2 separate regions of the Homo sapiens genome follow, and region 1 is linked to region 2. The links are contacts of gene promoters, found by promoter capture Hi-C in blood cells and fetal thymus (Javierre and others, 2016). All regions are on one chromosome and are shown on one strand. Each heading gives the region's core, a stretch centred on a gene start or on the middle of the fragment in contact. The rest is flanking DNA. Distances are from core to core; before and after follow the strand shown.

Region 1 (6,133 bases), core at 1-2,500, 1.3 Mb after region 2:
TCTGATTGGCGGTCGCGGCTAGCACGCCAGCGCAAGTCCCGCCCCTGGGCAGCGAACGTGCTACTGCGGCATCTGTTATTGGTCGGCGGGTATGTCAGTGGCTCTGGCCGCGCCTCACGCAAGCGCCCGCAGTCGCTCGGTGAATAAAAAGGCAGCCTATGGGCTGAGCGGGGGATGGGGAGAGAAGAGGGATAGGGCCAGCAAGGCAGGGATCGAACGAGTGTCTGGCAGCCGGGAGCCCAGCGAAGAGAGCGAGCAAGCTTAGGAAAACGAGCGAAGTAAAGGGAGTAGGGGAGACTGAGACTGACCGGTAGCCAGGCAGGCGGACGGACGCACGCCCGGACAGACTGAGCAGGCGCCGGAGAACCACTCACAGGTTCCCCCCGCCTTTCCCTTTGAAAGCTAGGATTTTGCCTTTCCCGTGGCGCCCGAGAGAGAATGCTGGACTCTGCCGACTTCAGCGCAAGCTAAGATTTCTCAGCTAGGGACAAACGATCAGCCCAATCCTGAGAAGGGGGGAACCAAGCACCCCGTCCCCATCCCCCTCCCCTCCCCCGACTAAACTCGGGCGCCAAACCCAGCCCTTCTCTAACCACCCTACTTCCTCCTCTCCTTTCTAGCATGGTGGCTGTATGGACAGTCTGACAGAACAGAGACTGACATCTCCCAATCTGCCGGCCCCCCACCTGGAACACTACAGTGTTCTGCATTGCACCATGACCCTGGATGTGCAAACTGTAGTCGTTTTTGCCGTGATTGTAGTCCTCCTGCTTGTCAATGTCATACTCATGTTTTTCCTGGGAACGCGCTGAATGGAGTCCAGCCACCTGAGCTGTCGCGAACTCTCGCTTTGATTTCATCCCGAGAGCCACCGAGAAAAAAAAAAAATCACAGACAGAGACAGGGAAAGAGAGAGAAAGAACAAGCTTTCTTACTCAGGGGGGAAAACGTTTTGAGCTTCAACATGGCCTCGCTGTGATATGTATGACGTTGGTATATTATCTCTCCCTAAATCTTTTGTCGTGTCTTGTCTTTTAAGAATGCCTGCGCGTATAGTTGCCTATTGCTTGAGTGAAATTGTTGATGAAGAAATGCTTTCTATTTAAGTGTGCATGCGTGTGTGCATTTTTAATCTATGTGGCGTTCATGGAGCAAGCTCTGCGTCCTTAAACAGTGGCTTTGCTGTCTGTGGTGTCTTAACTCATTTCCTTGAAGACTACCTTTAAACTCCATCAGGGAATTTTAGTCAAAATTTCTCTCTTGCCATCAGGAGTGCATTTGGGTTTGTTTGAGGGGAAAAGGGTTTGTGGAAGAGCATGATGAATATTTGACATCATAGGAAAGACAGTCTTTGCAGTGGATATTTAGAGGGAAAATAATCGATGCAAGGAATGGATTTAGGGAAAATGCTTCTTTAGTGTCTAAGGAGAAGCAAGAATTTGGGAAGTGACACGGGTGTGTTGTGCTGGCAGTTGGTGACTGTGTCCTTTGAATCTCAATTTGCTCTCCAGGGTTCACAATTTTCAATTTTGAAAGAAGCCACATTTAAAACACTTCTTGAACCTTAAAGCTTTAAGATATTTAAAATGTCAATTTCCTTGGAATCATGAAATAGTATGTGAAAGCATTCTCTGATTTTTTGAACTGGCAAGAGAGGACTTTGACAGGAGCTATTTGGGCTCCCTTTCCCAAAGATTGTACCCCTGGATTTGAGTTTGGGGATTTTGTTTGTCTCATCAAAAAAAAAAAAAAACCCCACAAGAAAGAAAAAACAGCTCTTTATCCACCTTGGGAATAATAGTATTTGGATATGGCTCCTTTGGGATAATCTCGTTTGCAATGATGTTCTTGAACTACATTTTAAATGTAACTTGATAAGGCTGATGAGAAAGTGGTGATGCTATTGTTTGCTCCCGTTTGTTACTTTAAGATCAGAGGTCTCTGTAATTGAAACATTCCCATAACAAACTGAAAGTCTGTAATGTGCTAAATTAAGAGTTATCAAATTTTGGTGCTAAATTTGACCACCAAAACCCAAAAACGTCTAGAAGGAAAGGGATGAGAGCATGGAAAACATGAGCTGGAAGCAACATTCCAGTTTGAGATATGACTGCTTGTCTGTATCAGATGGTGGTGGTGGTTTCTGTTGTTATTGCTATTGCTATTATTTTTATATTTCTGTTTCCTCTGAGAAAGCTCTTGGCAGAGCCAGGAAAAAAAATGTCTCATGCCAGTCTGTATAATACTTGTTTTTTTGCGTTTTGATTTTCTTTCTCCCCTGTTAATGTAGGCAGGCTTTCCCCATTCCATTGCTTACCTGGCTTGAAATAATGCCATTTATGGCTCATGTATTATAGCAGTGAATCAGGACACATACACATCTACACACATGCTCCCCCTCCACCCATGTGGGTGGCTGTTCATGTCTGATGTGCAAATCTGCTGGCATTATGCTGTCAAGTTCCATGTCCGGTTGTTCAGTCTCTTTGGAAATGATTATGAAAGGAGAGGGGCTGTGAAGGGGGCCTTTGAAATTGTCTTGGCCACAGGACCCAGAGAGTATTATTTAATGGCGTCAGAGGGTGTTTTGGGCCTCAAAGCATGCTATCCTTGACTTGGTGTGGGTGAGAAGCTGAGGTTTTTGTGAGATTAGTACCATGGTGTAAACATGATCTGGGAGGTTTGCTGGCATTGGTTCTTATTAATTACTCTTTGGTCCGTTTGTGGAGACCCCCTGGATGGAACTGAGAACCTATTTCTTTGCAAAGATAATTTAGTGAGTTTTTTTCCCCCCTTAGCTTCATTGTATTATTTAAAGTAAGCTTATATCTTTTCTGGGCACTTTGTTTTGATACAGTGTTGGAGAGTGGGGAATGGCTCTATGCTGGGCAGCTGCAGACCTGTTTTTTTGTTTTGTTTTGTTTTGTTTTTTGTTTTTTCCATTCAGCAGCTGTTTGACCTTGGACAATTTTTTTCCTCCTCGGTGGGTTTGGGATTCCCAGTAACATTGGCATTTTTTGATGGCTCCACTAGGTGACTTCCAAGTTCTTGCATTTTATGATTTTATGACCCCTAGACACTTGAAGTTGTGGGGGGTGGGGGGGATGAGCTGGAAAGACAAGTGAAAAGGAAAAGAAAATGTTAATCAAAGGGTGATGGGAGGAGGGGAAGGATATCTGGTACTACAGCCTGGATAACAAGTTTAAGCGAAGGGGTTTTTTTTGCCTAGTTATTTGGGAAGGAAACTGGGACAGCAATAAGGGAATGCTTTTTGACTTTTTTTCCCCCAAGGGGAGAAGGGGTCTCTGAGACTAGTCTTTGATCTAGGTTTATGACTTAAATAGTGTCACGAAATGCCTTCTCCTCTGTGAGCCTGACAGACCTTTGGCAGAAAGCCTCTGGGAATGTATGTGTGTGTGTAGGGTGTGTGGCAGTATGTTCATGGGGGTGTGTGGGGGGGAGCACACTCCTGAGTGTGGATGCGGGGTGTGGTGGTAGGAATGAAGAAAGACAGTATTGAGTTCCACAGTTCTGAATAGCCTCCTTGTGCTAGGACCTATAAGGATTTCACAAATGCTGGGATGGATGGGTATCACCCATGCCATTCCTCTTTTCACCACCTAAAACCCCTCAGGCTAAGGAGGTGTCTTGAATGAGCCCTTCCATTAGTAATTTAGCTGTTGAAATGGGTTAGCGCTTTTAAAATTGTCTCCAGGCAAATAAAGGGATGTTGCTAGCCAGATGGCAGGCCACCATCTAGCAACCAGAAGGGAATTTGAGAGTAGAGAACAAAAGGTAGCAGTGTGACTTTTTACTTGTGTGAATCCTAAAGGTTTGGCATTTCTGCTTCAGACTTGTGAGGATATTTTTCTCTAGCAAAAAGAGAAAAGAGTGGGAGAAAATGAGAAATGCAGCCCAGAGAAGCGGAACCCTATGCATTTTGACTTGTCTTCTTTTTTCCTTCCTCCTCTGCCTTCTCTCTTAATCTTTCTCCTTCTTCCTTTCTTCCCACCCCTGACACCACCTCCTCCTCCCACCTCCCCACTGTAAATGGGTGAGAAGTAAAAAAGAGAAGAGGACTTTTCCTCTCTGATTTGTCCCAACTTTTCCCAATAAAGCTCCTCCATTCCCTTCCCTCCTCTCTGGCCCCTTTGAGTAGAGGATAAGCTTTTGCCATGTAGGAGGGGCAAAATCCCAGCTTAGGGATTTTCGCTCCTGGATCCCCATCAAAGAATTAAAGAAAATGCCCTCTACTGGTATCCTAGCAACCCCTGTATCACTGAGCACCCACTGAGCTCCAGAGCCCACCCTTTAAAGGCCCAGGCACCAATAACTCTAGAAAAAGGGGACTAGAGCCTAGTGGGACTTGGAGAGATGCTTTTGGGGAGGGAACAAAGAAAGAACAGAATCCCAATTTCCTGCAAATGCCTCGGAAACATGTCCACAGCAGACATGTAGAGCCTAGCCTCGTCCAGCTATGAGATTATTTATTAGAAAACTCCTGGTTTCAAATTCCTTTCTAGTCAGTCCCATCTCCTTAAGATTAACTGTGCCATTTTACTGCCTAGCTTTAGTGCCAGAAGCTCTGCCGGTCCTGAAAAAACAATTTTTTTCACCCTAACTTTTGGCTGCATCAGGGAGGGGGTGAAGTGATATCTTGGTGGGAACAAACTGAACAGCATTCTTCTTCCATTGAGACAGCCTCCATCTGTCAGAACCTGCAGTGTGCTTGTGCAGTGTGCCCCAATTTTGTCTGTGGCTTGGGGAATCCTGATCAGCCTAGCTTTATAGAATTTGGGAATTTTTCTTTCTGTGGTTTTGGTGTAGTAGTTTCTGACGGGGGAGGCTGGACAAGTTGAAAGAGCAAGTTTGATAATGGAGCTGGTAAACAGGGCTTGGACCCTGGCTCAGAGACTCTCACCCACCGGTGTGTGTGTGATTCAGCTACTAGGGAGCTGAAAGATCCCAAAAAGGCTGTAGGTGAGGTGCTCTTCTGCCCTTGAGGTAAGGCCCAGATTGAGAGCAACCAGAGGGCACAGTCTGGTGGTTTGAAGGATGGTAACAAAGCATGTCTTCCTCTTTAGCCTTTGTCTGCCATCTCAGTTTCTGGTCCCTTGACCTGCAGAGTGCTTGCTCTGGGCAGGGATATAAGAATTGAGCCTTTTCTCCCAAAATAACTGCCTCCTCAGAAGACCTCCTACAAGGCATCTGGATCTTGCTCCAGTGGCTTTGCCCCAAGAAATGGGATGGAGGAGGGGAATCTTGGACTCTCTAGCTCTTATTTCCAGCTCTGCAACTTGTTCTAGGCCAACTGAGTCTCTGGCTTTCCAAGAATCCTTGATGAAGGTTTAGCTTCTCCAGTATCTGCTCAGAGTGTCTCCTTCTGTCTTAGGTGGATCTAGCTCCATAGAGTATTTAGTTTATTGTACTTTGCTCTAGCACGAAAGTACAAAGAGGAAAAACTAGAAGGGGAAGAACATAGAGGGGAGAGAAGGCTCAGGAAGCAGTCCAGTAATGACAATACTAATAACTCCTTATCAGTGCACGGGCCTATAGCGTTTATGAAGGAATTTCACATCCTTTCTAACTTGAGCATCACATCAGCCTTGTGAAGTGGGTAGAGATGATTGTAATTCCCAGTGTTACAGATGAGGAAAGTAAAGGTCAGCAAGATTGTTGGGATGGGAGTGGGTCTGCCTTTCAAATAGAGAGGAGAGTCAGAGTTGGTCATTCCTAACTAGTGTGATGTTGAATGTAGGGAGGGAGGGCCTGACGTGGTGGCTCACGCCTGTAATCCCAGCACTTTGGGAGGCTGAGGCCGGTGGATCACCTGAGGTCAGGATTTCGAGACCAGCCTGGCCAACATGGTGAAACCCTGTCTCTACTAAAAATACAAAAATTAGCCGGGCGTGGTGGCACACGCCTGTAGTCCAGCTACTTGGGAGGCTGAGGCAGGAGAGTCACTTGAACCCAGGAGGCGGAGGATGCAGTGAGCCGAGATCATGCCACTGCACTCCAGCCTGGGTGACAGAGCGAGAGTCCGTCCCAAAAAAAAAGAAAGAAAAGGAAACAAAAGAAAGAAAGGAGATTTGGGAGTCATCCCTGAAGTCATACTAGCTTCCTCAGCTACTCA
Region 2 (6,482 bases), core at 3,755-6,254:
ATTTTTGAAATAAAAACCTAGTGACTCAAAAATTGCCTGATTTAGTCACAGTATTTTAAAAGAACCTGGACAATTCTTCCTCTGAATACCACTTCCAGTCAAATCACCCAGTTTTAAATGCAGTTTATCCAATATGGGTTTGGCTTTTTAGACAATCACAGAAAATCTTTCCTAAATAACTTTATAAAAAGATAGATATCTTTTGTGAAACTAATTTAAAGGCCAAAGAAGCAGCTGAAGAGTGACAGTGAGAACAAATCAATATACACAGTAGTTAGGAAAAGTAGAAGTGAGGTACAGAAAGTGAGCATAATGAGGAGCTATGTAATTCAAGGCTGTGAAAGGTTATAGTGATAATAATACTGTACAATGGCTTTAAGTGAATAGTATTTTAGAAATATATCCATTTTCACATTATTAATCATGTCAAAATTCAATTTCAGGTTTCAGTTAATATTTATTGCATTTTAAAAATTGTTACAAAAAACTTATTACAGTAGAATACTATCAGTAACAAAGTTAATCTTCCTGTCAAATCCCAGTGGTGCACTTGTCAATAGGAAAATACGAATGAGTCAGACTACAAGGGAACTTTCCGATACCAAGAGTCTAAAAGGGATTAACAATTCATAAGATATGATACTGAGAGAATAACTGTGTATGAGACAGCTCCTGTGGATATTAGTTTACAACTTATATATGAAGGTGTTTGATTTATTTTCTTTGTGGATACCACACTTTAAGAAGGAATGGTAGTCTCCACTTTTTTTTTTCCTACATTGAATTGGCTATAGGTATCTTTCACTTAGTAAAAAATGCTATGCTCCAGGAAAACTTGCTCTTAAAAAGAATTGCTGGGAAAAAGACATTTATCTCATAAACTTCCATCATACAATTGAGAGATCTGTGCTCAGCTGGGAAAATTTTTAGTCCAATGATATAATAAAGATCATAGTTTAGCATATGGTAATTCTTTTAAAACTACGTATTTAAGGAAAATTATAACTTATAGATGCATCAGTGGTACTCAATGTAATACTGTCCTACCTCCAGACTCAGTCATTAGGTAAAAATATTGAGAATGACCCTATGTTACTTAACAGAGACTGACAGTTCTTTACCCTATTTTACATGCTGCCACCACTGAGGTTTAGCAATTTAACTAACATGTGTACCTGCCTTAAATCGCCACAGTACTTACAATTTGACATACGAGGTAATTTTAATTTTCTTGGCAGTTTCCCTCCTCTTTCCAAAGATCATCCCTTTGATACTGTCATAAGACCAGAAATGTACAATAGTTACTTAGCAAAAATGATTTACTCCAATGCCTTCTCCATATATTTTGCTATCTGTTAACTGGTTAATTTCCAGCAATAATCATAGCTATTTGCTGACTGTGTCCAGATAAGCCATTCTGTTCTCTAATAACTTGTTTATTTAATAGCTAATGTGCTAAGCAGAGGATGTTCAAAATAACAATTATATTTGTTGAGCCTAGAAACTATTAGCTACTGTGAATTAAAGTTAACTTTAATCAAAGAAGACTACTGCTGGCAGCAAAAGATACCAAAAAAAAGGTACAGAAGGTGTATAAAGCCTCAAAAATTTCAAGTTTGAGTATATTGTTCCTCAGAGTAAATCTGTGAATTCTTTATATTTGGAATTCTAATATGTGAATTTCTGTTAGGAGACATACCTCTCTACGGATGGAATAACTCCATACCTCGTTATTTTTCTGTGTAAATGTCAACTTACAATGGCTGACTAAAACCTAGGAGACAATTAGTCATCTGACTAATTTTCAATATAGCGGAAGGTTGTTAGAAATGTACCAAAATAAGCTTTGCAGAGGTTTGTAATTGCAGTTTAAACATTGATGTTGTCAATTATTAATATATACATTAATAACATGATATTAGAACTTTGACAGATATGAATTTGTGGGACTCTGACATACCCCTCCCTTTGTTTTCAGAAAATGGTAGCAATAGCAGTACTAAATGTAGTACTAAAAACTAAGTTATCATATACTAATGAATCAAAATGAATGTTGCTTATAAAATTTCCCTAATTTATTTTATCAAGAAATAGTCTTTGGAGCATATTAATAATCTAATGTACTATCAGACCAGTGTTGTATGAAACACTTAGAATATAACTGTCTCTTAATAGACAGTAAAAAAAAATGTACAGGTTACAAAAACATGTGAACTTAACACTCTACCTATATCTGCTTAGAAAACATTCTCACTTGCCTCAGGAAATAGGATGATTATTTTAAAGCCTGATTTCTATAGCATGTATATCTGTGAAATTATATTTAATTTGTTAATTTAGTATGTAGTTTATCATAGAAAATTATGCCCACTACAAAGAAGTTAATTGCCACTGACAGTCCTCTTCTCCTTTAGGTTTACCTAGGAGAAAATATGCAAAAGGATTAGAAAATCAAGTGCCTTAGCTCATGCTATGCTGAACTCTTCCACCTTCTAAGAAAGCTTATACTTCTATTAAGAGCCAAATCAAGTATGACTTTCTCTACAAAGCTTTCTCAGAAAAATCCAGCCTACAGTATTCTCCCTTTACTCTTAACTCTTTCAGTCCTTATTCAATATGACTCTGTTCCAATTGTTGACCATGGTGTCTCATATATGTATTTTCCTTTTTCCAATGGCTAAGCAATTTACCCATCGGTAATTTACCATTGGGTAAGCAATTTACCCAACTGGTAAATTGCTGTTTCTGTTCTATTCTCCACAATACCTGGTATAGTAGTAGGCATTCATTAGAAGCTAGAAAATAAAAACTTGTTGAAAGTCACTTTAAAAAAAAAAAAAAACTTCATTCCAGAGTTCACTGAACAAGTGCTTTGATAGCATTTGCAAAATAAGCCATCAATTTTATTTTATAATGTGATTACGACACCCTAGGTAAATGCTCTTAAGAGTATGCGGCATCTTCATAGTCATACTCACTTCAATGGAATACTAGATTGGATTCAAATTACTGCAGGGTTCTCTAAGTATGTGAAGGTGAAGAGCAAGTATTCATATGATACACTATTATTTCAAATAATTCAGACTTAAATTCATCAAAAGCTTTTCCAAAACAAAAAAAAAATTACCTTTGGAATCTAGCAACTAGAAGCATGTCAGCTTGCTAATGCACAAAACAAACAATACTCTCTGAGGTTATTTTGCAGTGGTACTAGAATTATATTGTGCTTTAATTTAAACTATACCCCCAAAGAACCTCAAACAACATGAAAGCTCCCAAAGCAAAGCATTTTACCCCAAACTAACAAAGTTTGCGGTCTTGACAGATTCACCCAATAAATTTAATCATAAATGGCATCTATATATCCTTTTTAAAAATCTTTAGCTCAAAAGCATTTACAAAAAAAAGAAAATTTAGCTTTTCCATTATTACGCTTCTCTCTCGCCACGTCTTATCAGATAAACGAAACCTGAAATGGCTTAAAAACCAATAGGGAGGGAAAAGAACCCATCTTTTGTCTGCTCACAGAACTATCTTACAATCAAAATTACTAATCTAAATTCAGTATGCTTTTGATAGGTGTCATCTGTGGACTGTAAGTTTTTTCAACCACTTACTTTTAAGAAAACAACCTCATTCATCAAAGATAATGTTGCTAATTTTCAAAAAAGCACCTCACAACTTTAGAACCTCATCTAATCACCTTGTCCAGAATATCACTTCCGGTGCCTCATGCCAATGTTTTCTGGAACCGACTATCTTCAACTGCAGGCTACCTCAGGAAGAACAGATATATCACAACCCATCCTCGCTTTTATTGGGGATATTTTAGGTTTCATCATCGTATTTATAATAAAAAAGAAGTATGCCATTCTGGATGAAAAGTAGTTTGTAAAACCAGTTTCCCCTATTATGAATCAGCCATTCTGCCTACTTCTCAAGTTTGATAGCACTTTAGAAGTCAAATGGAGTGTGTGTTTGTTTTATTATTTTTATTATTTAATATAAGTACTATCTTCCTAACGTACATGTCAGGAGTCAGAAGCCAGGCACAAGGCTTTCGGGAGGTCTTAGCACACGAGTAGCAACAACACTGAAAAGTAAGGGGCCACTCCAGCTATGTGTTCAAACCTTGAGGCATGGAGCGACAGCAGCCCGGGGAATGGGCTCCTGAGAAGCCCGCGGTCAGGCTGAGCCTCCTGAGAGAGCGAGAGCCAGAGCCAGAGCGAGGGGAAAGGGGCGAGCACGGCACTGGGAGAGTCTGTCCACGAATCAGGAATCAGGCTGCGTGACTGTACGTAGAATTATCAGCATCTATGGCATCTAAGAAGCAAAGCCAGGCCTTAAGCACCCACCCCGCATTCCTGGACGCCAGGGTTGAGACCAAAAAGTGGTGGCTATGAGAAGGAAAACTACCTCGAAGGGAATAGAGAGCCGCGAGCAGATGTGGGAGAGGCGTCAGAAGCTTCTGCAGGAGAAAGCAGCGATTCGCTCGCCTCCTGGGGCCACGGAGGCCGGAAAGGCGCACTAGAACCGAGCGAGTGCGGTGCCACTACTCACCCCTACTCTCCTATGGTCCCCGTCGTCGCCCTGCTCGACGCAGCCCCTGCAGGGGGGAGCCCCTCCCCCGCCCGCCGCAGGGGGTGGGCTCGGCGGGCGAGAGAAGGCGGCGGCGCAGGTGTCCAACAGCCGGGGCCAGAGAGGAGCTGGGTGCAAGGGAGACAGCTTGGTGCCTTGCGCTCCGTGGCGCCGCCAACTTCACCACCATCGACGTGGAGGGACGAGGGGAGGCGATGGGGGGAAGGCGCTCGCCCAGCGGCCCGGACCCTCCTGGGGTACTAGGCCTGAGCCTCTGGAGGGACCGCCGTTACCAGTCCCCTCAGCGATGCGACCCCCAGGCCTGATTCCAGTCCCTGGGCCCCCCTGGCCACAGAGCAGCGGCGGCTCCCTCTTGGGGCCGCGGTCGCAGCTGCATCCTCCTGCTCCTCCTCCTCTGGCGCCTCTGCCTACACACACAGCCCCGGCGCGGTTATCGCCGCGGCGCCCGGCCGCCGTTGCCTAGCAACTGTGCGCATGCGCCCCACCCCTGTCGGCGACTGCTGCCACCGCTGGCGCCGCTGTCGGAGCTCAGACCAGCAGGCCTACGACCTAGAAAGTGCTCAAAACCCCACTTCCTAAGGCCTAGAAGGAGCGACGTGAAGGTAAGCGTGGGTGAGGAGAGGTCCAGGATGCTCTGCAATTCGATAGGCCCGAGGACTTGGGATACGACCGTCTCCCAGCCCCTCGACAGGCACCTCTGCGGTTAAGAGTGACAGTCCCAACAACCTCACTACTTGTCTCACTGCCTTTTATTTGTCTTTTATTTGTTTTTATTTTATTTGCCTACGTATTTGTCTTGGCTCCTCCAATTCATCCTTCACAAGGGCTGCCAGGGTAATTTTCTAAATAACTTCTCTGACTATGTCACTCGTCTGCATAACTCAGGTGGTTAAGGGTCACCTCCCTTAATAGGGCCTAACAATTCTTGACTACTGCAACAGCATACTCTCTGGTTTCTTTGCCTTTAGACTTGTCTTTCTGCAATTTGTTCTCATACTTCTACCAGTGATCAAATGAAAATCTAATCTCACTTCCTTCTGGCTTAGAGAATGGGCTTTGAAATTACAGCCAAGTTTGAATTTCTGCTCCACCACCAAGTAGCTCTGTTTCCTTGAACTAGGAATTTTTTTTTTTTTTTTTTTTTGACAAAGTCTTACTCTGTCGCCCAGGCTGGAGTGCAGTGGCGCCATCTCAGCTAACTGCAATCTCTTACTTCTGGGTTCAAGAAATTCTCCTGCTTCAGCCTCCCAAGTAGCTGGGACTACAGGTGCAAGCCACCATGCCTGGCTAATTTTTGTATTTTTAGTAGAGACGGGGTTTCACCATGTTGGCCAGGCTGGTCTTGAACTCCTGACCTCAAGTGATCCGCCCGCCTCCGCCTCCCGAAGAGCTGGGATTACAGGCGTAAGCCACCGTGCCCGGCCTGAGCTAAGATTCTTAACCTGTCTAAATCTGTTTCCTTATCAGTAAAATGGGGATAATTATAATACCTATAGAGTAGTTATGAGGATTAAATGGAAAAGTGAATGTAAAGCACTTAACATACATAACTTACTGTGGCTCAGAGTAAGCGCTTAGTAAAAATTGGAGTTATTTTTCAATAGATTCATTATCTATAATAAAGGAGAAAATACAGATTCCCTAGCTTAACATTCAAAGTCCTCTAAGATCTTGCCTCTATTTTTCTAGCCCTAGCTCCTTCCACACCCCCTTAGGCACCCAGCCACAGACCAGTTTTTACCTTTTCTGAGACACATCTAGATCTATAAAGTGCTTAGACATATTTCCCAAAGGTTCACCTGGGTAAGAAATCTGCATAAACCCTCCAGTTAATTAACATGTAAATATCCAGTGATTCTTCTAAAACTACACTTTTTAATTTT

Evidence for each region. Contacts are between HindIII fragments. The CHiCAGO score rates a contact against its expected background, and 5 or more counts as called.
Region 1: a contact is called between a fragment that was not itself captured here and the fragment with the promoter of ZC3H12B in region 2, in 1 of 17 cell types (fetal thymus). The highest score is 8.0, in fetal thymus.

What each region holds. Positions count from the first base shown.
Region 1 is chrX:63,749,164-63,755,296 of GRCh38, reverse strand. The region is part of intron 1 of ARHGEF9 (Cdc42 guanine nucleotide exchange factor 9); the gene reads left to right. LOC128031833 reads left to right here and starts at 633. Exons shown (of 1, transcript NM_001414729.1): 1 at 633-812. The coding sequence starts at 633. The coding sequence ends at 812. RefSeq lists a silencer at 1-134 and an enhancer at 1-288. The HindIII fragment of the contact is 644 bases long and covers 929-1,572 here.
Region 2 is chrX:65,033,348-65,039,829 of GRCh38, reverse strand. ZC3H12B (zinc finger CCCH-type containing 12B) reads right to left here and starts at 5,004. Exons shown (of 10, transcript NM_001010888.4): 1 at 4,561-5,004. It also overlaps a transcript of ZC4H2 not described here. RefSeq lists an enhancer at 4,377-4,436 and silencers at 4,537-4,766, 4,827-4,976. The HindIII fragment of the contact is 4,649 bases long and covers 4,468-6,482 here.